7 separate regions of the Homo sapiens genome follow, and all the other regions are linked to region 7. The links are contacts of gene promoters, found by promoter capture Hi-C in human tissues and cell types (Jung and others, 2019). All regions are on one chromosome and are shown on one strand. The core of a region is centred on a gene start or on the middle of the fragment in contact, and the rest is flanking DNA. Distances in the headings are between cores, read along the strand shown.

What was found. The method cuts DNA at HindIII sites, captures the fragments that hold promoters and counts their contacts. A contact is called where the count stands out against the background at its distance.
Region 1: a fragment that was not itself captured here is called in contact with the fragment with the promoter of GAS1 in region 7 in 1 of the 25 tissues and cell types used here (adrenal gland).
Region 2: a contact is called between a fragment that was not itself captured here and the fragment with the promoter of GAS1 in region 7, in 1 of the 25 tissues and cell types used here (IMR-90 fibroblasts).
Region 3: a fragment that was not itself captured here is called in contact with the fragment with the promoter of GAS1 in region 7 in 2 of the 25 tissues and cell types used here (IMR-90 fibroblasts and dorsolateral prefrontal cortex).
Region 4: a fragment that was not itself captured here is called in contact with the fragment with the promoter of GAS1 in region 7 in 2 of the 25 tissues and cell types used here (IMR-90 fibroblasts and dorsolateral prefrontal cortex).
Region 5: a fragment that was not itself captured here is called in contact with the fragment with the promoter of GAS1 in region 7 in 2 of the 25 tissues and cell types used here (H1 embryonic stem cells and bladder).
Region 6: a fragment that was not itself captured here is called in contact with the fragment with the promoter of GAS1 in region 7 in 2 of the 25 tissues and cell types used here (IMR-90 fibroblasts and aorta).

What each region holds. Positions count from the first base shown.
Region 1 is chr9:86,529,340-86,532,705 of GRCh38, forward strand. LOC102724080 (a long non-coding RNA gene) reads left to right here. Exons shown (of 2, transcript XR_007061636.1): 2 at 484-1,941. Among named protein-coding and RNA genes, the nearest start is that of TUT7, 180 kb to the left of the region's middle. The HindIII fragment of the contact is 5,489 bases long and covers 1-3,366 here.
Region 2 is chr9:86,564,261-86,567,628 of GRCh38, forward strand. No RefSeq gene overlaps it. Among named protein-coding and RNA genes, the nearest start is that of LINC02834, 140 kb to the right of the region's middle. The HindIII fragment of the contact is 5,641 bases long and covers 1-3,368 here.
Region 3 is chr9:86,547,679-86,550,992 of GRCh38, forward strand. No RefSeq gene overlaps it. Among named protein-coding and RNA genes, the nearest start is that of LINC02834, 160 kb to the right of the region's middle. The HindIII fragment of the contact is 5,141 bases long and covers 1-3,314 here.
Region 4 is chr9:87,291,240-87,294,175 of GRCh38, forward strand. All of the region lies in intron 1 of LOC105376126 (a long non-coding RNA gene), which reads right to left. Among named protein-coding and RNA genes, the nearest start is that of LINC02872, 140 kb to the left of the region's middle. The HindIII fragment of the contact is 3,370 bases long and covers 1-2,936 here.
Region 5 is chr9:86,512,645-86,515,845 of GRCh38, forward strand. All of the region lies in intron 1 of LOC102724080 (a long non-coding RNA gene), which reads left to right. Among named protein-coding and RNA genes, the nearest start is that of TUT7, 160 kb to the left of the region's middle. The HindIII fragment of the contact is 4,230 bases long and covers 1-3,201 here.
Region 6 is chr9:86,580,943-86,584,127 of GRCh38, forward strand. No RefSeq gene overlaps it. Among named protein-coding and RNA genes, the nearest start is that of LINC02834, 130 kb to the right of the region's middle. The HindIII fragment of the contact is 5,159 bases long and covers 1-3,185 here.
Region 7 is chr9:86,945,963-86,949,081 of GRCh38, forward strand. GAS1 (growth arrest specific 1) reads right to left here and starts at 1,544. Exons shown (of 1, transcript NM_002048.3): 1 at 1-1,544. The coding sequence starts at 817. It overlaps GAS1RR (GAS1 adjacent regulatory RNA), which reads left to right and starts at 2,736. Exons shown (of 7, transcript NR_049794.1): 1 at 2,736-3,031. RefSeq lists silencers at 535-604, 675-754. The HindIII fragment of the contact is 5,107 bases long and covers 1-2,862 here.

The DNA of each region.
Region 1 (3,366 bases), core at 24-2,523, 420 kb before region 7:
TCTTGATCTGCATGGTAGTTATAATAATTCTTCAAGATTTCCATTTTTGATATAGTTTTTTTGCATTTGTAGTATGTTTTCTTGTACAATAAAAGGCTAAAACATCCTAGTAAATATAATCTGTGCATTTATGAAAAGTTATATGTTTATAAGAACAGATACACAAGTCAAAACAGCAACTAGCTAGTGAGTATATAAAATCACCCCTAGAAGCTAAAGAGAATGTTCCAATATGAGGTTGAGGGCTATCCCTCTCCAAATCTATGGGGCCTGAAGGCGCTGGGCTAGGCAGGTTTCCTACCTAACTTTGTCCAGACAGATGAAGGCAGGAAGGATTAGTTTTGATCATGCCTGCTGGGTGTATGAGTCACATTCTACCTGGTAATTATTTTTGACATTTGACAGTTCTAGGCACAACCTTTTGCAGCTCTGAAATCTTGGCAGGCCATTTATTTTTGAAGCTTCATATTTTCCTTTTCACAGGATATACCTATTTGGGTACCCTGTTCAAATTAAGGTAGAGATTTTTGAAGAGTCACAAGCCCGGAGGAAAATGTAGAGTTTCAGGAAAGAACTCATCACTTAGCAACAACAACAACAACAACGACAACAACAACAACAACAACAACAACAAAAGTGTGACCTTTACTTGAAAAATACCAGCCCCTGGCCACAGAACTAGGCTTACAATTTTTCAGAGCAGGCACCAGGTGAATCTTTGTTCCCAAATATTTTCCCTACCTGCCTGTACCACAATGCTGAAATTCTATTCTTAGACAGATAACTCGTTTGACTGGTGAGTTTAAAAATGCAAATTTCCCAAGAAGAAGTAGCCCAGTTAAGACTGTTATGAGACAGTCATACTATGGTGAAAAGAATGCATAAAGAAAGGATCCTGAATTAAAGAGAAAAGCAAAGGACAATTGTAAAGGACACAGAATTGCTGGGAAGAAAAATGCCTGGAGCTTTCCCAAATCAGGCAATAAAAAGGCACTGAGCATCTGCGAGACACGTATGAGGATTTTTTCAATCAGCTTCTTTTGGTTTAAATTGACAGAAACCCCAACTCAACTAAGCTTAGGAAAAAAAGGGTAATCTATTGGCTCATATAATTTAAAAGTACGACTTTTAAATTAGATGGAGTTTCAGGCATGGCTTGATCCAGGTATTAAGCAATACTTTCAAAACTTTGTCTTCTCTGTTTTCCTGCTTTCAGCAGGCCCTCTGCTCCTGTCTTCTCCCAAATATAGTATAAGTTTTTTTCTTTACCCTGATCACTAAAGTAAAAATTGTGAGATAAGCTGTGATTGGCCATGCGCACGTCCTTGAGTCAGTCGAGGTGGCTTCCAGATACAAGGCTCTGGTGGGCCATGTGGGAGTTATTGGCTTTGTCCTGGAACCAGAGGTGGGTCAGCTTCACTGACACACTTGCACCAAGGAAATGGGCGTGGTGTTGCCAGAAAAGAGGGACATGGGTATTGGAGCTTCACATAGCACATGTCCCGCCCAGCAGCCTCTGCGAGTTCCAACCCAGAGTGGCTGTGAAATCAAGTTGCTGGATCACAGCCAGCATCAAAGGAGTATTCTAGAAGAGAATTTAATAGAAGATACCTGAGTGTGTCACATTCTGTAAGAGTCAGTTCTGTGAAACCTTTGTTTGAGTTACACAGGTGCATACGTATCTACAAATGTAAATATGTGTGCATATTTATATACATGTATGTATAAATGTGTGGATAAATATGAATTGTTGACCACGGTTTATGGAAAAAAAGGTGTAAACATGTGTAAATATGTGCAAATATGTGCATATTTATATACGTACATATTTGGACTTATAGGTGTAAATATGTGTGCATATTTATATACATGTATGTGTAAATGTGTGGATAAGTATGAAATTTTGAGTTATATGGAGTTAAATAAAATATATAATCAAAATTACTTTTCCCTCTTTCTTTTTATCTCTTTTTAAATGTGGTTGCTAGAAAATTTAAAATTATACTCATGGCTCATGTTACATTCGTACAAAACAGTGCTGGGGAAGAGCAGAGCAGATGAAAGCTGGTCCCTGGAGACAAGATGTTGGGTAAATTCCTGAGCACCCTCATTTGCACAGTTAAAAGAATGAGAGCCTGCAGTGTGGGGTATTTGTGCATAGTAATGGGATAATTAATAGCACATGGGGAGCGTGTCAGAAACGGAGCTGCTGCTTCTATTATGAAACCATGAGGCCTCATCTCTCCTACTTGATTAGATCTCTGTCAGTTTTACTTTTGTAGAATCGAACAGGCTGCCTGGCTCCCAGCAAGAACTCAATAAATGCTTCATGAATGAATGAATGAATGAAACAATATTAGAAAAGAAATGAGAAAATTTCCCCAAAGACAATATTTACCTTCTTGATGATTTTGATCAAGGACAAGCCTACTAGAGGTTGTAAATCATTTATGATTTGCCTGAAGAAAAGTTATTTGCAAACCATGGCAACCAGGGGATTCACATCAATTCTTCTAACTTCAAACCTGACTCACTTCTTGCTGGTGGGCCTGGAGGTTGCCCGAATCTCCCGTCTGAATGAGCATTTAAGCAATTTCAATTCTTACCTCATTGTTATTTGCCTTTTTCTCTTTTGCTTAAACTTTTGTTAAATAGCCACATCTTTTTCAGTTTTACACTTGATATGTGTAACAAATACCATGTGGCAATTACATGCACTTTGCACGGTAACTTTATGTGGTTTCCCCAAGAGCTATTACAGATATTTATATAGATATTTATGTATAAATCACACACACATACTTTTTCTTCTCTAAGGGCGTTTGATGTAGCAGATTCAGAAATGAAATTTTCAAATTACAAATCCCCATTGGAGGTTGGGGTAAAGCAAAGACAGGCCCTGTAGAGGGAAAAGATGTTATAAACATTAGGGTAAGAAAAAAACTGCCTTCACACCGCAAGATGCTTGAGTCCTGTAGAAACTGGCAAGTGGTTCCTGGGAGAGAAAGGCCTTCAGAGATGTCTTGCCCTCCTTACTCCCTGCCTGTTCCTTTCTGCCCTGAGATTTTGGCGACAGGCATTGACATCACTGTGCAGGGATGAGATTCCTCTGGATATGACAGGGTGGGGTGTGGCACTGCCACTTGCTATCTCTGAGGTGACACACTGTGACCCTTGGACAATTTCCTTAACTCCTTTCAGCCTCAGTTAATTCATCTGTAAAATGAGGATACAGCACTCACCTCACAAGATTTTTAGGAAGATGAAATATAATAATATATTTGAAAAGGGTACCAAGTATGAGATACCTTAAAAATGTAGGTAGAATGATGCATGTAAATCTGGGAGCTGTCAAGGAAGCTGAAG
Region 2 (3,368 bases), core at 303-2,802, 380 kb before region 7:
CTTTAAAAAGATGAGAAAAAGTAAAAAAAAATAAGAATGAAGAGGAATGAAAACGCAAACCTTTTGGTTCAATATCAAAACTCAAGTGAAATAACCAGTTGCACACAGTTGGTAATATTTCCCAGTTTAGAGGGCACAGCAAGGACTTCTTGGGGATTTGTTCTCTCCAGGTCTTCTCCTGATGTCCTGTATCATCTATTTGTTCGTTCGTTCATTCATTCATTCATTTGTTCATTCATTCATTCATTCATGGGTCCTAAAAGGAACACAGGATCAATTTGCAACAAACCCAGTCCCAAAATATTTCAATTTTTTTCTGTCTACAAGACTCACCTTACTTTATTTTGTTTTTAATTGACAAATAATAATGGTGTATTTTTATGGGGTACAATGTGATATTTTACACATTGCAGAAAGATTCAATACGGATGATTAACCTGATATCCCTCACCTTACCAACTCTCTTTTTTTTGTGGGGAGAACGTTAAAAATCCATTTTTAAGCAATTTTATGATATATAATACATTATTATCAGCTGTGGTCACCATGTAGTGCAATAGATGACTAAAACTTATTTTTCCAGTACTGACATTTTGCATTCTTTGATCAACATTTTCTTTTTCCTCATTCTTCCCCCTCTGTCGATCTCTGGTAACTACCTTTCCGCTCTCTCTTTCTATGACATGGACTTTTTTAGATCCCATATATAAAAGGGATCATACTGTATATGTCTTTCTGTGCCTGGCTTAGCCTAATGTCCTCCCGTTCCATCTGCATTGTCAAGAATGACAGAATTTCTTTCTTTTTATTTTATTTTATTTTATTTTATTTTTTTTTTGAGACAGCGTCTGGCTCTGTCGCCCAGGCTGGAGTGCAGTGGCGCGATCTCGGCTCACTGCAAGCTCCGCCTCCTGGGTTCACGCCATTCTCCTGCCTCAGCCTCTCAAGTAGCTGGGACTACAGGAGCCCGCCACCGCTTCCGGCTAATTTTTTGTATTTTTAGTAGAGACGGGGTTTCACTGTGTTAGCCAGGATGGTCTCGATCTCCTGACCTCATGATCCACCCACCTCGGCCTCCCAAAGTGCTGGGATTACAGGCGTGAGCCACCACGCCCGGCCTCTTTCTTTTTAAAGGCTTTATAGTATTCCATTGTGTATAGACAAAACAGTTTCTTTATCCATTGATGAACACTTGGGTTGCTTCCATATCTTGACTATTGTAAATAATGCTGAAATGAACTGGGAGTGCAGATAGCTCTTCAACATACAGATTTCAATTCTTTTAGCTATATATCTAGAAGTGGAGTTATTGTATCATATGGCAATTCTACATTTAGTTTTTTGAGGAACCTCTGTATTAGTCCATTTTCATACTGCTGTAAAGAACTGCCTGAGACTGGGTAATTTATAAAGGACAGAGGTTTAATTGACTCACAGTTCAGCATGGCTGGGGAGGCCTCAGGATACTTAGAATTATGGCAGAAGGCAAAGGGGAAGTAAAGAATCTTCTTCACAAGGTGGCAGGAAGGAGAAGTGCTGAGTGAAAGGGGAAGAGCCCCTTATAAAACCATCAGATCTCATGAGAACTCACACGTTATCATGAGAATAGCATGGGAGAAACCACTCTCATGATGCAATTACTCCACCTCGTCTCTCCATTGACATGTGGGGATTATGGGGATTGCAATTCAAGATGAGATTTGGGTGGGGAAATGAAGCCTAACCATATCATTTCACTCCTGACACCTCCCAAATCTCATGTCCCTTTCACATGTCAGAACCTATCATGCCTTCCCAACAGTCCCCCAAAGTCTTAATTTTTTCCAGCATTAACCCAAAAGTCCAAGCCCAAAGTTTCATCTGAGACATGGCAAGTCCCTTTTGCCTATGAATCTGTAAAATCAAAAGCACGTTAGTTACTTCCTAGATACAATGGGGGTACAGGCATTGGTAAATACACCCACTCCAAATGGGATAAATTGGCCAAAACAAAGAGGCTACAGGCCCAATGCAAGTCCAAAACCCAGATGGGCAGTCAAATATTAAAGCTACAAAATGATCTCCTTTGACTCCATGTCTCACATCCAGGGCATGCTGATGCAAGAAGTGGGTTCCCACGGCCTTGGGAAGCTCCGCCCCTGGGCTTTGTAGGGTACAGTCCCCTCTCTTTGCTAAAGCATAGTGAGAGTCAACTTTGCTCCAGTTCCCCATAAGTTTCTTGTCTCCATCTGAGACCACCTCAGCCTGGAGTTCATTGTCCACTTGGTCAAAGCCATTCAACAAGTCTCTATGAAGTTGCAAACTTTTCCACATTTTTCTGTCTTCTTCTGAGTCCTCCAAACTGTTCCAACCTCTGCCTGTTATCCAGTTCCAAAGTTGCTCCCATATTTTCAGGTATCTTTATAGCAGTGGCCCACTACCTTGGTACCAATTTACTGTATTTACTATATTAGCCTGTTTTCATACTGCTATACAGAACTGCTCGAGACTGGGTAATTTATAAAGGAAGGAGGTTTAATTGACTCACAGTTCAGCATAGCTGGGGAGGCCTCTGGACACTTACAATTACGGCAGAAGACAAAGGGGAAGCAAGGCACCTTCTTCACAAGACGGCAGGAAGGAGAAGTGCTGAGTGAAGGGGAAAGAGCTCCATATAAAACCATGAGATCTTGTGAGAACTCACTCACTATCATGAGAACAGCTTGGGGGAAACTGTCCCCATGATTCAATTACCTCCACCTGGTCTCTGCCTTGACACATGGGGAGTACAGGGATTACAATTCAAGATGAGATTTGAGTGGGGACACAGAGTCTAACCATATCAACCTTCATACTATTTTCCAAAATGGCTGTACTAATTTACATTCCCACCAGTGGTATGCAGGGTCCCCTTTTCTCCACATCATCACCAATACTTATCATTTGTCTTTTTGATAATAGCTATTCCAAAGGGTATGAGGTGATATCTCATTGCAATTTTAATTCACATTTCTCTGATGATTAGAGATTTTGAACATTTTTCATATATCTGTTTGCTATTTCTATTTCTTTTGAGAAATGTCTGTTCAACTCCTTTGTCCGTTTTTCTAAAAAATTGGGTTATTTCTTGCTATTGAGTTGTTTGAGTTCTTATGTATTTTGGATATTAGCCCCTTATCAGATGTATGTTTACAAATATTTTTCCCATTCTGAGTTGTCTCTTCACTATGTTAATTGTTTTCTTCTCTTAATGTATTTTTATTTTAAGAGTATGACCATGGATAAATGTCATACTCTTAAATATGGCATCATAGATAGAAGACCAAAGCTCTAGCATCTCCTTTTTGGGGCCAAGTGAATCAATGTATCATAGTCTTTATGTAAGTCCA
Region 3 (3,314 bases), core at 510-3,009, 400 kb before region 7:
CACAGCTGAAAACACACAAACAAACAAAACCAAAAACCAAACAATGTTCCCCCTTGCCAAACTGATTTCAGCTGGCCCTCTATGCTGCTCCTCTTTTTTTGGTAACAGTTTCTCCAATGACAATGACTCTCTTATCCAAGAAACACATGTTCTCAAGTCAAATGCTCCAATAAGCTGATGATCCAAGCTTCCTGTGAGTGATTTTGGGGCATGAGAAATGCATTGTCCAAGCATCACCCATTGATGCAGCTGGAGATTTAGCAAGTTTGCCCTAGAAAGTTGTCAAGGAAATCTCAGATGAAGATGGTGTTGCAGGTTGAGTTTCCTAGGATGTGGATTTTTGTGATGGAGTTTGGTGTGTGGGAAGTTTATCTAGGAGTGTCCCTTGGAAGGGAAATGTCATAGAAAGGAAGAGGAATCAGTAGTAGGCAGAATACAGGCCGATGGCTGTCTTAGTTGACTTCATGGCAGCTCTGGAGCTAGGATGGCTCTTCAGAGTTGGCCCGACTTGGGCTAAGATAGAACAGCAATCAGATATGGGCTGCCCCAGGAAGGGGCATAACCTCAGACAAAGTGGCTATCTGCAGCTGAGGCAGTCCTAGGAAGGGGCTGACAGTGAAGATTTATGCCAGTAGCACTCCCAATGGCTGAGATTCATTCTGTAAAGGGGGCCTGGTTGGGGCATCCTTATGCCCAACACAGATGGTGCTCCACGTGCCAATGACACATTCCCATGAGAAACACGTGGGTGATTTTGCATCACTCACCACTCTCCATTGGGGATTATCCTCTTATCTCTTTCTTGTTCTTATCTTCTTTAGCTCTGTATCTTATTCTATTTCCTTTCTTCCAAGATAATTCTTTACCTCTAGCTTCTAGCTATGAGAACGCGGAACCATTACCATATGTGTTAGCATTCAGTGGCTTCATCCATATTGGACACTGGCTTGAAGGTTGGCTTTTAAGCACCGATCTGAACCTTTCTGAAGTTTTGGAGCCCGATCTGAACCTCCTCATTCTTCTTTATGGCCGCAGGAGTACAGATGTTCCCCGACTTACGATGGTTCTGCTTACAATTTTTTGACTTTACAGTGGTGTGAAAACAATATACATCCAGTAGAAACCCTACTTCAGATACCAATACTGGAAGTTTTTCACTTTCAGTATGGTGTTCAATAAATTACATGAGAGGCTGAACACTTTGTTTTAAAGTAGGCTTTGTGCTAGAAGATTTTGCCCAACTATAGGCTAATGTAAGTGTTCTGAATGCATTTAAGGTAGGCTAGCTCTGATGATCGGTAGGTTAGGTGTATTAAAAGCATTTTCAGTTCATGACGTTTTCAATTTATGCTGGGTTTATCGGGATGTAACCCCATCATAAGTCAAGGAACATTTGTGTACTGCATCTGTGCCTTCCTCTGATAAAGTTCATTATGCTCTCAGCATATTTCAATCTCCTTCTACAAAAAGAGAACACAAAAAACTAGCTTGGATTTTAAATAAGGCAGAAACCCAGAGGCCACATTCTGTCCTTGATGCTTAGCTTTGCACCATTCCCTGGAGAAAGCTCTTATGTCTTTTAGGTTCTGTTGGGATGCTTCTTTACACATGCTTACATGGCCTTGTTCCCAGTCTTTGCCCCTTCAAAAAATGAGCTGGCTGTTCATTAAGAGTCATGCAGCTGAGCTCATACCCATGAATTTTTCAGGGTATATTACTGAGTGTCCTTTAATCCCTAAGACTTGTAGATCTTGGAGGGCTGGATCTCTGAACAGAGAGGCCCAGGTTCCCATCCCTGTAGCATCAGCAATGACAGCTGCTTCCCATTTGCTGCTTAGATTCAGCTGAAACTCATCGGAAATCAGATCTGATGGTGGCCTCAGTTCTGATGACTACACTAACTTCATCCGATCAGATTTCCAGTGAGTCAGGCTGGTTGCTGAGCCCTTTGTCCTGTTGTTTCCTTTAGACTAGCTTGGGTTGGTGGTGCTTCATGAATAATCCATGCACATTAACCAGCTGCATGCATAAAGGCATTTCCACTGTGTCTTTGCCATGAAATTTTATGTGGTTCTGATGTAATTCATAAATAACCAAGAAGAGCCAGACCCTGACTTAAAGTATCTAGAAACCTTAGAGAATCCTTTCAGGTTTCCCAAGAGAACGCATGGTAGTAACTTATCTCTAAATGGTTATAACAGGGATATTTTCCCTGGAGAGTTTTTAATGTCACTGTTGGCTGTATTGCAGGGACAAGGAATATATGGAAATGAAGATAACTTCTCAAAGTGTTTGAAACAAACTTTTATTTCAGTTTCTGGGGTTCTTTTTGGTTTTGGCTATTGCCTTAATCACCAAGTGGTGTGGGTTAAAACAAAAGCCATAATTAAATTGAACGCAATTTGGGGAAAAAACGTTGGGCAACTCTTTGCTTAAACAGAAGCAGGTGGTACTGGAATGCTTAATGGAAGTGAGCTGTGAGGAGGGAATGCAGATTTTTTTTTTTTCATTGAAAACAGTTAAAAATACTTGTGGTCTTTTATGCCAGGCTATGATCAAGATTTTATATATATCTGTGTGTATCTCCCAGTTTCAGGAAAACTGTGATGGAAATGCAATATAGTTTGAATTAGAGAGTGGTCTTTTGTGGTAAGAGAGGATGGGATTTTGTATGTGTGTGTGGTGTTTATTTCCATGGTTGTTTTAAGTAAAGATGTTCTCCTATTCTAGTAAAGATGTGATTTCACTTATACTCCATTCAGGAACTCATCTGTAGAGTAAAGCAATATGTTTTACATAGCTAGCTTTCATAAATGGAACGAAGGATGGATAGGAGGATGTGGCCATGACCCCACTTGCTGCGGGGGATGAGAGAGCCAATCTTGTTGACAAGGCAGGCATCCTATTCTTCTCTAATTGCTCAAGAGTTTTCCTTTCAGAGACTGTTAAATGAAACTTTCCCAGTAGAGAAACATGTCTTCAGGCTCAGGAATTAAGATGGGGCCACAGCCCAATTGTGAAATGCCAATTTCCCTACAAATATTGTTGCCAGATAAAGTACAGGATGCCAAGTTAAATTTGAATTTCAAATTAAAAATAAATAATTGTTTTAGTGTAAGTATGTCTCATAATATTTGGGACTAAAAATTATTCATTCTTCACCCAAGATTCAAGTTTAACCAGGCATCTGATATTTTTAGTCATGTGCTGTATAAGGATGTTTTGGTCAATGATGGACTGCATATACAACAGTGGTCCCATAAGCTTATAATACCATATTTTTACTGTACCTTTTCTATGTTTAGTTATATTTA
Region 4 (2,936 bases), core at 127-2,626, 350 kb after region 7:
ATCTTAAAGGAATCAAGTTTCCTCATTTCTGGTCTTGGATGAGTGGACAACCTAAGACACCTTAATAAAAAAAGACAATGCACAATCAGAGTTCTTGATACATTAGAAGTATTCCACAATATGGGCTTTTAGAGATGTTTTAGGAGGAAAGGTAAATAAGACTAGTTTGTGTAATAGACAACTTCTAAATCTCAGAGGCTAATTTAACATAATAAACATTTGTCCAATAGAGGTCAAGAGAAAGTTTTGCTTTCATTTAGGGACCCAAGTAAGAGAAAAGAAAGTGAGGATGGGCGTTAGGATGTTTCATTCAGATTGATTTTCAAAGCACCCGGCCTAGAAACAACACTCACATCACCTCTGCATTCACCCGAACTCAGACACGTGTGCCACACCTAACTACAAGGACTGGAAATGTGGTCAACAGAGTGTCCAGGAAGAGCAGGACAAGAATCTTGATGACTACAAGCAGTCTTATGCCACAAGTGTTGAAAAAAGCCAGGACCGAAAGAAGCCAGTTACAAAAGAGAACATATTATATGATTCAATTCATATGCAATACCCAGAACAGGTTAATCTACAGAGACAGAAGTAGATGAGTGGTTGCTTAGGCTGAGAGGAGTTATGGGGGTGTGGAGAGGTGATAATTAAAGGGTGATGAAAATGTTCTAAAATGGATGGTAGTGATGGTTGCACATCACATATATGTGAATATACTAAAAATCATTGAATTCTACATTGCAAATGAATGAATTGTAAAGTAAATGAATTATATCTCAATATAGCCATTTAAATAAATAAATACAATCAACGGATACATAGAAACTCTGTACCATATTAGCAACTTTTCTGTAAATATATAAATATAAATTAAAATTATATTTTTTAAAAACTATTTTTAAAAAGTCAAGATCGATTTCAAGGATAGTGAATATTCTCCCGTAATATCTTCCTTCCACCTTATTCTCAGGCAAAACTGGTGAAAATGAATACCAGAGTCCCAATGCTTCCAGTTAGAAAGTTTCAACTTCGAGGGTGGTTTTCAATCAGTTGAACCTTGGTTTCCTATTCTGTAAAATGGAAGTGATACACTGACTTCAACCGTTTGTTGTATTTATTAAGTAAGATACCAAATTTGAAATACCAGGCATGCAGTTGGCTCTAGATTAAAGCATATTAATTAACTCTTCAAAGGGAAGTGAAATATCAAAAACACAAATAACCCCCCAAAATTGTTAAAGATTTGAATAGACACTTTACAAAAAAAGATATTCAAATGGTCAATAAGCATATGAAAGAGTACTCAATATCATTAGTCACCATAAAAATGCAAAGCAAAACAGCAGTGAGATACCACTACGCACCAAAAAAAGATACTAAAATGGTCAATAAACATAAGAAAGAGTGCTCAACATCATTAGTCACCACAAAAATGCAAAGCAGAACCACAATGAGATACCTCTCCACACTTACCAGAATGGCTAAAAATGAAAACCAACTCTACTGAGTGTTGGCAAGGCTGTGGAGAAACTAGAACTCTCACACATTGCTGCTGGATGCTGAAAATTGTACAATCATTTTGTAAACCCATTGCCACTCTCTGATAAATGGGAATATTCATCTACTCTATGGCCTAGCAATCACACACCTAGACTATATACCAAGAGAAATGAATGTACTATGTTCACAAAACACCTGTACATACATAACAGCTTTACTCACAATAAGCAAAAATTCGAAGCAGCCCAGGTATCCATCAATAGGAAAATGGATAGACAAACTGTGGTATATCCATACAATGGAATAGTACTGAGCAAAAAAAATGAGAGACTATTGATATACATAATAAAATAGATAAATTTCAAAAAAATGCTGAATGAATAAAGGATAAACTAAAGAATATATATGTATTAATATTATTCCATTTATATTAAGTCCTTGAACATAGAGAACTAATCTATAGGGATTGAAAGCAGGTCAGTGGTTACTTGGAGTCAGTTGTATAACAGCACTTGACTGGAAAGAAGCATGAGTTAACTTGCTAGAATGATGGAAGTGTTGTTTTGTTTGTTTTTGTTTTGACACAGAGTCTCACTCTTCATGCCCGGGTTGGAGTGCAATGGAGTGATCTTGGCTCACAGCAACCTCCGCCTCCCGGGTTCAAGTGATTCTCCTGCCTCAGTCCCCCAGTAACTGGGATTACAGGCATGTGCCACCATGCCCAGCTAATTTTGTATTTTTAGTAGAGATGGGGTTTCTCCATGTTGGTCAGGCTGGTCTCAAACTCCCAACCTCAAGTGATCCACTCGCCTTGGCCTCCCAAAGTGCTGGGACTATAGGCGTGAGCCGCCGTGCCAGGCCTGGAAGTGTTTTATATTTAATATATTTTAATATATTATATATATTTTATATATATTTTTATATATTATATATAGTTTATATTTAATGTCAAAATTCATTGTGCTGAACACTTAAAGATTTATACATTGTATTGAATGTAATAAAGTACTATTAATTTAAAAAACAAGGAAATGGGGGCTAATGGAAGGAGAGAATAAACTATTTCATCCTTTTTGCCTTGGATGTAAAAGGGTAGGTGGCACATACATGTTAATTTTCTGCATCTGCATCCTGCCACCTGCCTAACCAAGTCACCAAGGTGCAAAGCCCTGGAATGTCACCTCTAGTTAATATCCTCTAAAGACAGTTCTACACACAGCCACACCCAGTGTCTACTCTGCAGGTCACTGTGTTCCATGTTACAGTAAATAAATAAATACATGAATAATAACCTCTTGGTTATTATTCTAACCAAGATATGTCTTGGATTATGTTTTTCTGAAGTTATATAAAGCTTATAAAAACAGAAAATAAAGTACATTGAAAACATTTCAGAAAAAAAATCCAAAATAGACAAAAATGTAAATGAAGGCTAT
Region 5 (3,201 bases), core at 474-2,973, 430 kb before region 7:
TATAGCTCTAGAATTAATAAATAACCTGAAACCAACTGCCTATAATCTACAGCAGTGGGGACCACAAATGGGCAAACTAATGGAAGGACCATGATGACGGGACTTGGACACACACATCACTTAGGGAGACAAATCTAGAAGTCTCCCTTTCAAACTGCCTTCCAACAGACACCCAGCATAGTTATTCCTGTTTCAGAGATAGCACCCAAAGACAAAGGCCAGAGCTTATCGTATAAATGCCTTGTTTGCCACTGTCACATTGTATTTTCCTTATAACAACAAATAATAGTTAACAAAAAATAAGAACTACCACAGAAAATAACAAAAGAATACAATGATTGGTATTTTTTCCCACCTACATTTTGGGAGTTTTAGAATTTAGATAAATTTCACTGGGCTCTCTGCTTCTTTCTCTTTCCCTGAATTCCTAACCCACTGAATAACCTTCAGTGTTTATTTAAATTTTCATTTTCTCTTGAAGTGTTCTGGTTACGTCTGCAGATGTTGAAATTGCTTTACAAAAACGTACACATCTCTAGTATTAAAAGATGCTTTTTAAACCTCACAATTTAAAAAATTAATTCCTCTTATATTTGTACATAGATTACTCAGAAAGTTCCTTTAGAAATAAATTCCAGTGACACTGATTTTTTGTTTTTTTTTTTGCATTTTTATTTCAATGAAAAATCTCACTGCTTTTTTTCTTGCATTTGATTGCCCAGCATTTGGTTCCTTTTCCTCTCTGATTGGCTGCTGGTTGTGGTGCAGGCTCCTGCTTCATCATTTTGCATTCTCTCCTTGGTCTTAGGTGTTCTTTCAGCCAGGACCAGGGCCTTCCTGCTCCAGCGAAGCTCATCCACCTGTGGGTCAAGCAACTCCATCTGTCCTCAGGACGCTTTTTGAACACTGGCTCACTTCAGAGCCATAAATGCCTAGGTATGTGAGTTAATCCAGTCTCCTTGGCTGATACAATCCATGACAGGATCACAAGCTGCAGGGTAATAAACATCATTTGGGTGCTAATAAATTTCAAGCTTTGAAAGTAGGTGTTTATGTCTAGCAAGAGATAATGTTGGCAGAAGGGAACTTTCCTGGGGTGTCTGTACATTGTTTTGTAGGAAAGACACCAGTGGCCTGGCAAGATAAATGATCTGAGGTTTCAGGTAGAAGGGACAGGGAGTTATTTAGTAGCAAGAGCCTTGGGCCTACCCAACTGACTTTCCCATGCCAGTCGCAGCTCTGCCCCTGGTATTTCATTCCTCTTTGAGCTCCATAGTTTGTAGCTGGCTCTATCTGTAAAGGGAGACCAACCTAAGCCTTGATTTCTTGGGGAAAGGGGTGTCAATTTTTATTACATTCCTTTTTTTTTTTTTTTGAGATGGAGTCTTGCTCTGTTGCCCAGGCTGGAGTGCAGTGGCACGATCTTGGCTCAGTGCAACCTCCGCCTCCAGGTTTCAAGCAATTCTCCTGCCTCAGCCTCCTGAGCAGCTGGGATTACAGGTGTGCACTACCACACTTGGCTAATTTTGGTATTTTTAGTAGAGACGGGGTTTCATCATGTTGGCCAGGCTGGTCTTGAACCCCTGACCTCGTGATCCACCTGCCTCGGCCTCCCAAAGTGCTGGGATTACAGGCGTGAGCCATCGTGCCCAGACTTTTTATTACATTCTTTGCCAATATTTAGTTTCCCCCTTGCATATCCCTCTCCTTGTGTGATAAAATTTTGTAAGTTTGATTTTTCTATGCAAGATTTTGGATTGGATTAGAGAATAAAATATGTAGAATTTTGTTCTTTGGATGTCTTTAAAAAGAGGGTAAATTCCTGTTTTGGTTGGTCTCTATGGTGTGGTCCGACATGTTCAATTAACTGCTCAGAAAGGACTAATAATTTCTGAATCATCTTTAGCTTATTCAAGACTCTTCCATGATAATGGAGATGCAAAAGAGAGACATAGCACAGACTTGCAACCTAGCTGGGAAGGAAAGAACGGGAAGTATCAAAAATGAAAAAGGAAGCCCAGGGTTGCTTGGTGTGCAGCCTGCCCTGATGGTATGGGTGTGTTCTTTCCAGGCAGAGGGCACATGAGGGCATACAGCCTGGTTTCACCAATTAGATGCAAGGAGCTCCATTTTTATGCTATTTCAGTCCACTACTTTACAAGGTCAAGAACATACTACCAGAAGCCAGTTTAGTGATTTCACCTTTCTTTTCATCCTTCCTACCTTGTTTGTGTCCTAGAGATGGCAGTAAGGATTGGTTAGTATTGGAGGGTGGCTGCTTTGAGATGCTTCTAGTTTCCTTTCTCCATCAGTGACCCCCTCATTCTCATGCACCCACCTTTGCATTGAAGGTCTCTGTCAGGCAGCCATGGACATGTGTTCCCTGCCCTCCAGTTTGGAAGGGCTGCTACATTAATAGGTGAATGTAAAATCAGTTTCTTGGAGTGTAAGGCATCTGACTGTTATACAATGAGTTTTGTGGCCAGAGGGTGAAAAGAGAGTATATAGGCAGTATAAGTCAGTCCTCCGTGAAATGCTTTGGGTGGCCCTGGTGGAACTACTTCTTTATTTTCAAGGGAGGTGAAGTGGTCCAGCATGAAGTTTCTACCAGTGAGAAGTATGTGGGTAAATGACAGCTCCCACCTTTAACTTTTGCCCAGTTGCTAAATCTCCCCTCTCTTTATGCAACATATACCTGACACCCTGATGGATGCTTCTCCCTGCAGGTACCGTTGAGTAATGAGTCCGCAGCTGATTAAATCACGGGTTTCCCATATCTTTCTTATTAGTTCTGCAGCACAGTTCCTTGAGCTGACAGCTGTACAATAGCACCTTTTCAACTGTTTCTGGTTTCATGCCAGAAAACTTATCTTTTAATGATTTTGCACCCACCTCCCAACTCCCAGAGCGAGTAGAGAAAGGGAGTATATTTTGAAAGAAATTCCAAGCTTCTTTTGTGTATTTTTTCACTTGGCAGTCCAGTTTGTCACTGATTAAAAGCATCATGGAAAACAGTTTCAGAACGGCTACATGAAGTCCAAGTTCATCATGTTTTAACACTGCTATAAAATACTTTTTTGAATGTTTACTATGTGTCAGGTACTATGCTCGGTGCTGGCGATAGTGGGTTAGCAAAAACTGTTTTGTCTTAGGCATTCTTTATGATTGTAGCCATCTAAATTGCACACTATGACTATGAAG
Region 6 (3,185 bases), core at 119-2,618, 370 kb before region 7:
AGGCGGGCCTTTTAGTCTCTGGATTATTTCTACTGGGATGGATACTCTGCTCTATTTCATCCCCTCAAACTGATGCCTGAGAACAGCCCAGGCCCAGGTCCTGGCTGTGCCAGTTCTGTACCACCACCAAAGGCAGTGGGGTGGGGCAGGAGATAGAATCTGGTCGGTCATCTAAGCAGAGCTACCTGGGGGCTCCCCTCCTCCAGCATCCTCTCCCTTCTGTCTCTGCCCTGCTGTTCATCCAATACGCATTTGCTGAATACTTACGAAGCACAAGGCTCCATCCCCACCACCATGAAATATGAAAAGCTAGGTGCAGAAACACCCCCAAATCATGTGCAGGTGGGATTCCTGTGGAACTTCTGAATGTAGTGTCGAGAAAATGTCACTAGAGTTCAGGTGATGAATTAGCTTTGTTCCTTTGGAATGCATTGGTTGTAAATCCCTTTTCTCTCTCTCTCTCCCCCCCCCCTTTTTTTTTTTTTTTGAGACAGTTTCGCTCTGTGGCCCAGGCTGGAGTGCAGCGGGGCGATTAATCTCGGCTCACTGCAATCTCCGCTTCCCGGCACAAGTGATTCTCCCACCTCAGCCTCCCAAGTAGCTGGGATTACAGGTGCACGTCACCATGCCTGGCTAATTTTTGTGTTTTTTGTAGAGACAAGGTTTTGCCATGATGCCCAGGGCTGGTCTCTAACTCCCGGTCTCAAGCGATCCACCCACCTGGGCCTCCCAATGTGCTGCGATTACAGGTGTGAGCCACTGAGCCCAGCCAACCTCTCCTCTTTTTAATCTGTCTTCCATCTTTATCTTCCACAGGGCCGGCCTTACTGTATACAGAGTAAGTGAGTGGCACTCAGGGAAGAACAGGAAACACAGCACTAGACTAGAAATGGACGGTGCAACTTAAGGGCTAAATACTGGGGGCAGGGTGTTTGGAGCTACACTTTTCATCTGTGCCATCAAATATCTATTACTTGAAATGTGACTAGTGCAACTGAGCCTGGTTTTCAAATTCTATTTATTTATTTAAACTTAAATTTTAAAATGATAACTGCTTCAATTATTGGGAAGCTTTTAAGTATCTTTAGAACAACTTGAGTACATACATTTACTTTTTCAATTGTACATTTTATGAAATAAATGCAGATGAAGTATTTCTGATGAAAATTTAGCATCTAAATTGAGAAGTGCTAGAGTTTGAAATATTTTATATTCTTTTCCTTAATGAGAAAAAGAAAAGCATATAAAATATTTCAATATTTTATATTAATTACATGTGAGAGATACACATTTTGAAAGAGTAAATGAATGAGTCGAATAGAAACATTCTTGTTATTTGAAATGATCAGCCACCAACAGAGTTAACATTTATTAGGTGTATACTGTGCTCTGTATGTGCATACAGTGCACCAATTTTTGTGCCTCACTAATATTTACATTCCTTGGCTATTGTTAAAAAGTAAAAAAATAACAGATGCCAGCAAGGTTGTGGAGAAAAAGGGACACTTTTACACTGTTGGTGGGAGTGTAAATTAGTTCAACCATTGTGAAAGACTGTGTGGCGATTCCCCAAAGACTTAAAGACAGAAATATCATTTGACTCAGCAATCCCATTACTGGGTATATACCCAAAGGAATATAAATCATTCTATTATAAAGACATATGCACGCATATGTTCACTGCAGCGCTATTCACAATAGCAAAGACATGGAATCAACCTGAATGTCCATCAGTGACAGACTGGATAAAGAAAATGTGATACATATACACCATGAATTACTATGCAGCCATAAAAAGAACAAGATTATGTCCTTTGCAAAGACATGGATGGAGCAGGAGGCCGTTATCCTTAGCAAACTAACACAGGAACAGAAAACCAAATACCACATGTTCTCACTTATAAGTGGGAGCTAAATGATGAGAACACATGGACACATAGAGGGGAACAACAGACACTGGGTCCCACTGGAGGGCAGAGGGTAGGAGGAGGGAGAGGAGCAGAAAAAATAACTAATGGATACTAGGCTTAGTACCTGGGTGATGAAATAATCTGTACAACAACAAACCCCCATGACACACGCTTACCTATGTTAAAAACTGCACGTCCTGCACATGTACCCGTGAATTTAAGATTACAGTTTAAAAAAATTACATTCTTAACCATAATAACAATACAAAGGTAACCACAATCATCACTAACATTTATTGAGCACTTACTCTGTGCCAAGACTCTTCATTTCATCTTTCAAAAAATCCTAGGAGGTTGGTACTGTTTCTACCCTTTCCATTTCAAGATGGGAAAGTTGATGCTTATAGAAGTCAAACAACTTGGCTGGGCACGGTGGCTCACACCTGTAATCCCAGCACGTTGGGAGGCCAACGTGGGCACATCACGAGGTCGGGAGATCGAGACCATCCTGGCAAACACGGTGAAACCCTGCCTCTACTAAAAATACAAAAAATTAGCCAGGTATGGTGGCAGGAGCCTGTAGTCCCAGCTATTCGGGAGACTGAGGCAGGAGAATGGCGTGAACCTGGGAGGTGGAGCTTGCAGTGAGCGGGGATGGTGCCACTGCACTCCAGCCTGGGCGACAGAGCAAGACTCCTTCTCAAAAAAAAAAAGTTAAACAACTTGCCCAAAATCAGCCATTGAGTAAATGGAAGAAGCCACGAGACTTGAGCCCATGAAACACTTGAACTATGTTTCTTTTCTCTCATATGGTGCACAAAGTCTAAACCCAGGCCTGACACTCTCAGTGTGACCTTAGTTCACAGAACGACCCTGACAAATCAGAGCCTCAAGCCCACAGTGGGGGCAGCATGCAGGGGGCAGCTTGCAGGTGGATTTAAACCACAGTGACAGTGTGGAAACTAAGCTGATGTCCTGGACTAGTGAGGGCTGTGGGGCTCAGCAAAGTAAAATCAAAACCACTCCCAGATATCTCCATGGGCTGGGGATGGAAGACACATGTGAAAACCTCCTTTTGTTGTAAATGAGCTCATATCCCCGAATTATGAAGCATGAAAGTAAAAACACTGCCATAAAGGAGCATCATTGGATTAAAAAAAAAAAAAGGAAATAACCAAAGGAAAAGAAAAGGCTCTTATTTTCATAACACAAAATACTCACTTCTAAATACCTGGATAAAAAAAAGAAACCTTAATGATAATGACAAAATCTATA
Region 7 (3,119 bases), core at 294-2,793:
GCTCGTCATCGTAGTCCTCATCGTAGTAGTCGTCCAGGCCCCCGTCCGAGCCGCTGCTGCCGGGGCCGTTGCCCAGCTCGGCGCCGAAGCACAGGCGGGCCATGTTCTCCTTGACCGACTCGCAGATGGGCCGCTCGAGGCCGTCGCACACGCAGTCGTTGAGCAGCGCCGCCTTGGGCATAGCCAGCATGTCCTCAATGACGGTGCGGCATTCGTCCGTGCAGCGCAGCCCGTTGAAGACTTTGCCGCAGTAGGTCAGGTAGCGGCTCAGCGCCAGGTTGCAGCGGCTGTCGCGGTCGCAGCGCCGCCGGGCCTCGGTGCAGCCCATGACCCCGCCCGCGCCGGGGCCGCCCGCGCCGCCGCCGCTCGTCCGGGGCAGGCACGGCTCAATGGCGCGCTTGGTGGACTTGCAGTTCTCGTCCTGCGCGCAGTCACAGTCCTCCAGGGCGGGCCCGCGGCGCGTGTGGTTGAGCTGAATGAGGGCCGAGATGCAGTGACTCGGGCAGCGCCAGCGCGACGAGAAAGAGGCGGCCGAGGCCGGGAAAGCGGCGGCGGCGGCCCCGGGCGCGTCGCCCCCGCCGTGCTGCGCCAGCACCGGCGCGCACGCCTCGGCGTACTGGTTGTAGGCGTAGCTGCACTCCGGCTCCCCCTGGCACTGCAGCAGCGCCTGCCAGCAGATGAGGCGGCGGCCGTGCGCCAGCCCCGATCCCCGCGGCGCCGAGCCCAGCAGCTGCAGCAGCGCCATCAGGCACAGCCAGGCGCCCGGCACTGTCCCCCCGCGGGCCTCGCCGCCGCCGCCCAGCAGCGCGGCCACCATCGCGGGCAGCGGCGGCCGCCGGGAGAGGAGGGGAAAGGAGACGAGGCGCGGGGAGCGGCGGACGCGGAGCCGGTGGAAAAGTTTGTCCAAGTCCTGCCCACTTCTTGCATGAGTGTCTTCATAAATCCATGCGCGCCGCTGGCTGATGCCCCGCTGGTGGCAGAAGGTCCCCTTTCGCTCTGGCTGCGGTGGCTTCCTGGAAATGAACAGCTGTCGAGATCTGGTCCCGCTCTCCCACCCGAGAGCCCTCCGCTCGGCCCCCGGTGGTGGCGGGAGAGGCTCACTGTCGCCCCGGGGGGGTGCGGGCCGCGGGGCCGTGGCGGGGCTGCAGGACCGCGCGGCGCGGCGGGTGCATTTTGCTCCGCGCCTGCAGATCCGTTGTGCGGCCGGCTGTCCCCGTGCCGGCTGCTCGCGCTGCGGCCGCGGCGGCTCCTTCCTCCTGGGCTCAGTGCCTCGCCGCCGCCACCGCCGCCGCGGTCTCTCGCATCGCGCCGCTTCCTGGCCCGGCGTCCGCGCGCTGCCCGCCTTCCCGCGGCCCGGCCGCCCCGCGTCCCCTCCCCCTCCGCCCGCGGCAACCCCGGCCTCCGCAGAGCTCCGGGGAGCTCTTTCCGGGAAGCGCGGGGAGAACAAGAAAGTCGGCGCTGCCGGAGAGCGGCTCCCTGGCTTCACTCGGCGGCAGCTTCTCGGGTGACCAAGAGCCCGGGGAGCGGATCCGCTGAGCCCGGCTGCAGACTCGTTAGCAGCGAGGCTTTAAATACAAAAGTGGGCCGGGAGCCCCCGCGTGGTGCCGCGGTGCCCCCTCATTATGCATGCATGGAAAAGCAAACAAACAAAAACATTAGCAACGCTCCTCCGGCTCGCCGAGCCCCGGCCCCGCGCGCTCCGAGCCTGCCCGCTTTCTCCTTTCTCCACTCTCTTTCGCCCTTTGCTCGGCCCCCTTTCCCGGCTTTTCGAGATGCTATTGGTCCTGCCTGTTGTTGTTGAAAGTTTTTTTTTTTTTTTTTACGAGCCGCTGGAGTGGGGTTGCGGAGTGGGGGAGGGCGGGAGGGTGGTGGGCAGCTCACATTCAGGCATTCAGGGCTTGAAAGGAACGGCTTAGGGAGCCTGACGGAGGCCCGGAGCTCCTCCTACTCTTAAGGAGGCTCGGATATGCAGCCCCAGCTCGCGCACAGAACCAGCGGGCAGGGCTTAGGGGCAGCTGTTTGCATCCGGCTCAGCCACGGGCCTTTTTTGTTTGTTTTTTTTTTCTTTTTTTTTTTTTTTGTAGTTTTATTAATTCTCGCTGGCCCCCATCTGTGCTTTCGACTGGATTCAGAACTCAGTTTATCTTCCAGGCTCCCTGTCTTTGGGTCTTGATCACCACAGAGGGGAAGGGGAGAATCCAGAGATAAAATGTGAGACTGAAACTGTTTTAAAGAAGCATACAAGAAAGAAGCACACACTTTATTAGGGAGATGTTGATGAGATGCTTACAACCCGCCCGCCACCCCCCAGCCCCAGCTAGGCCATCTGGCAGGTACCGCCCGTGCGCCAGGCATCGTTTTCAAATTGCAAGACCGAAATCCAATCAACCGAAATAATTTCTTAGGAAGATAAGCTTGCAACACGTGCAATAATGAAAAAATTTAACTAGCATTAAAAATATTCAGGAATGTCGAGCAATTACCACCTGGCCGCAGTCACAGGACAGAAGACGGAATAAATGGGCACGCACCAAAGGTTTATATTAAAGTGTAAGTTTCAGCCCCTCAGTATATTTAAGGGAGGCTGCTCTGCAGAGGAAACCTCTGCCTTCTCGGCGAGGGAGTTTCCGAGCTACCTTAACTGGGGCGCAACGCAGCCTTCCGCCACCAGAGGCAGCGGGCGTCTGCGGCCTGTCAAAAACTGGCGCTTTTTTCCTCCCCTTTCCGTGGAGAGACTATCAACTCCATCTGTCACAAAAATTAAGGCTAAATCTCCTCTCCAGAAGCAGAGGGAGCCGGGGCTCCGACGCGCTCAGCGTCGGGCTGTCTGCCTCTCCCTAGAGGCCAAGTGAATTTGAAATGGCAAAAGTCACAGCCGGAGGCCCAGCACTAGGAGATTCCTCCGGCTGCGGGAAATCTTCCTGTACCTGCTGAAGCTGCTGCGTTCCTCAGAGGCGCTTGGTCTGCCGTGGGAAGCTGCACCTCTGCAGTCCCCAAAACCAAAATCAAACCTTAAAAGAGCCAGACTGAGGTAAGGCGGACCGTCTTGCTCTGATTTGAGTATTGGTAGACAAACAGCAATATAAATCGATACTAAAAAAATCCAGAAAGGCTGCAAC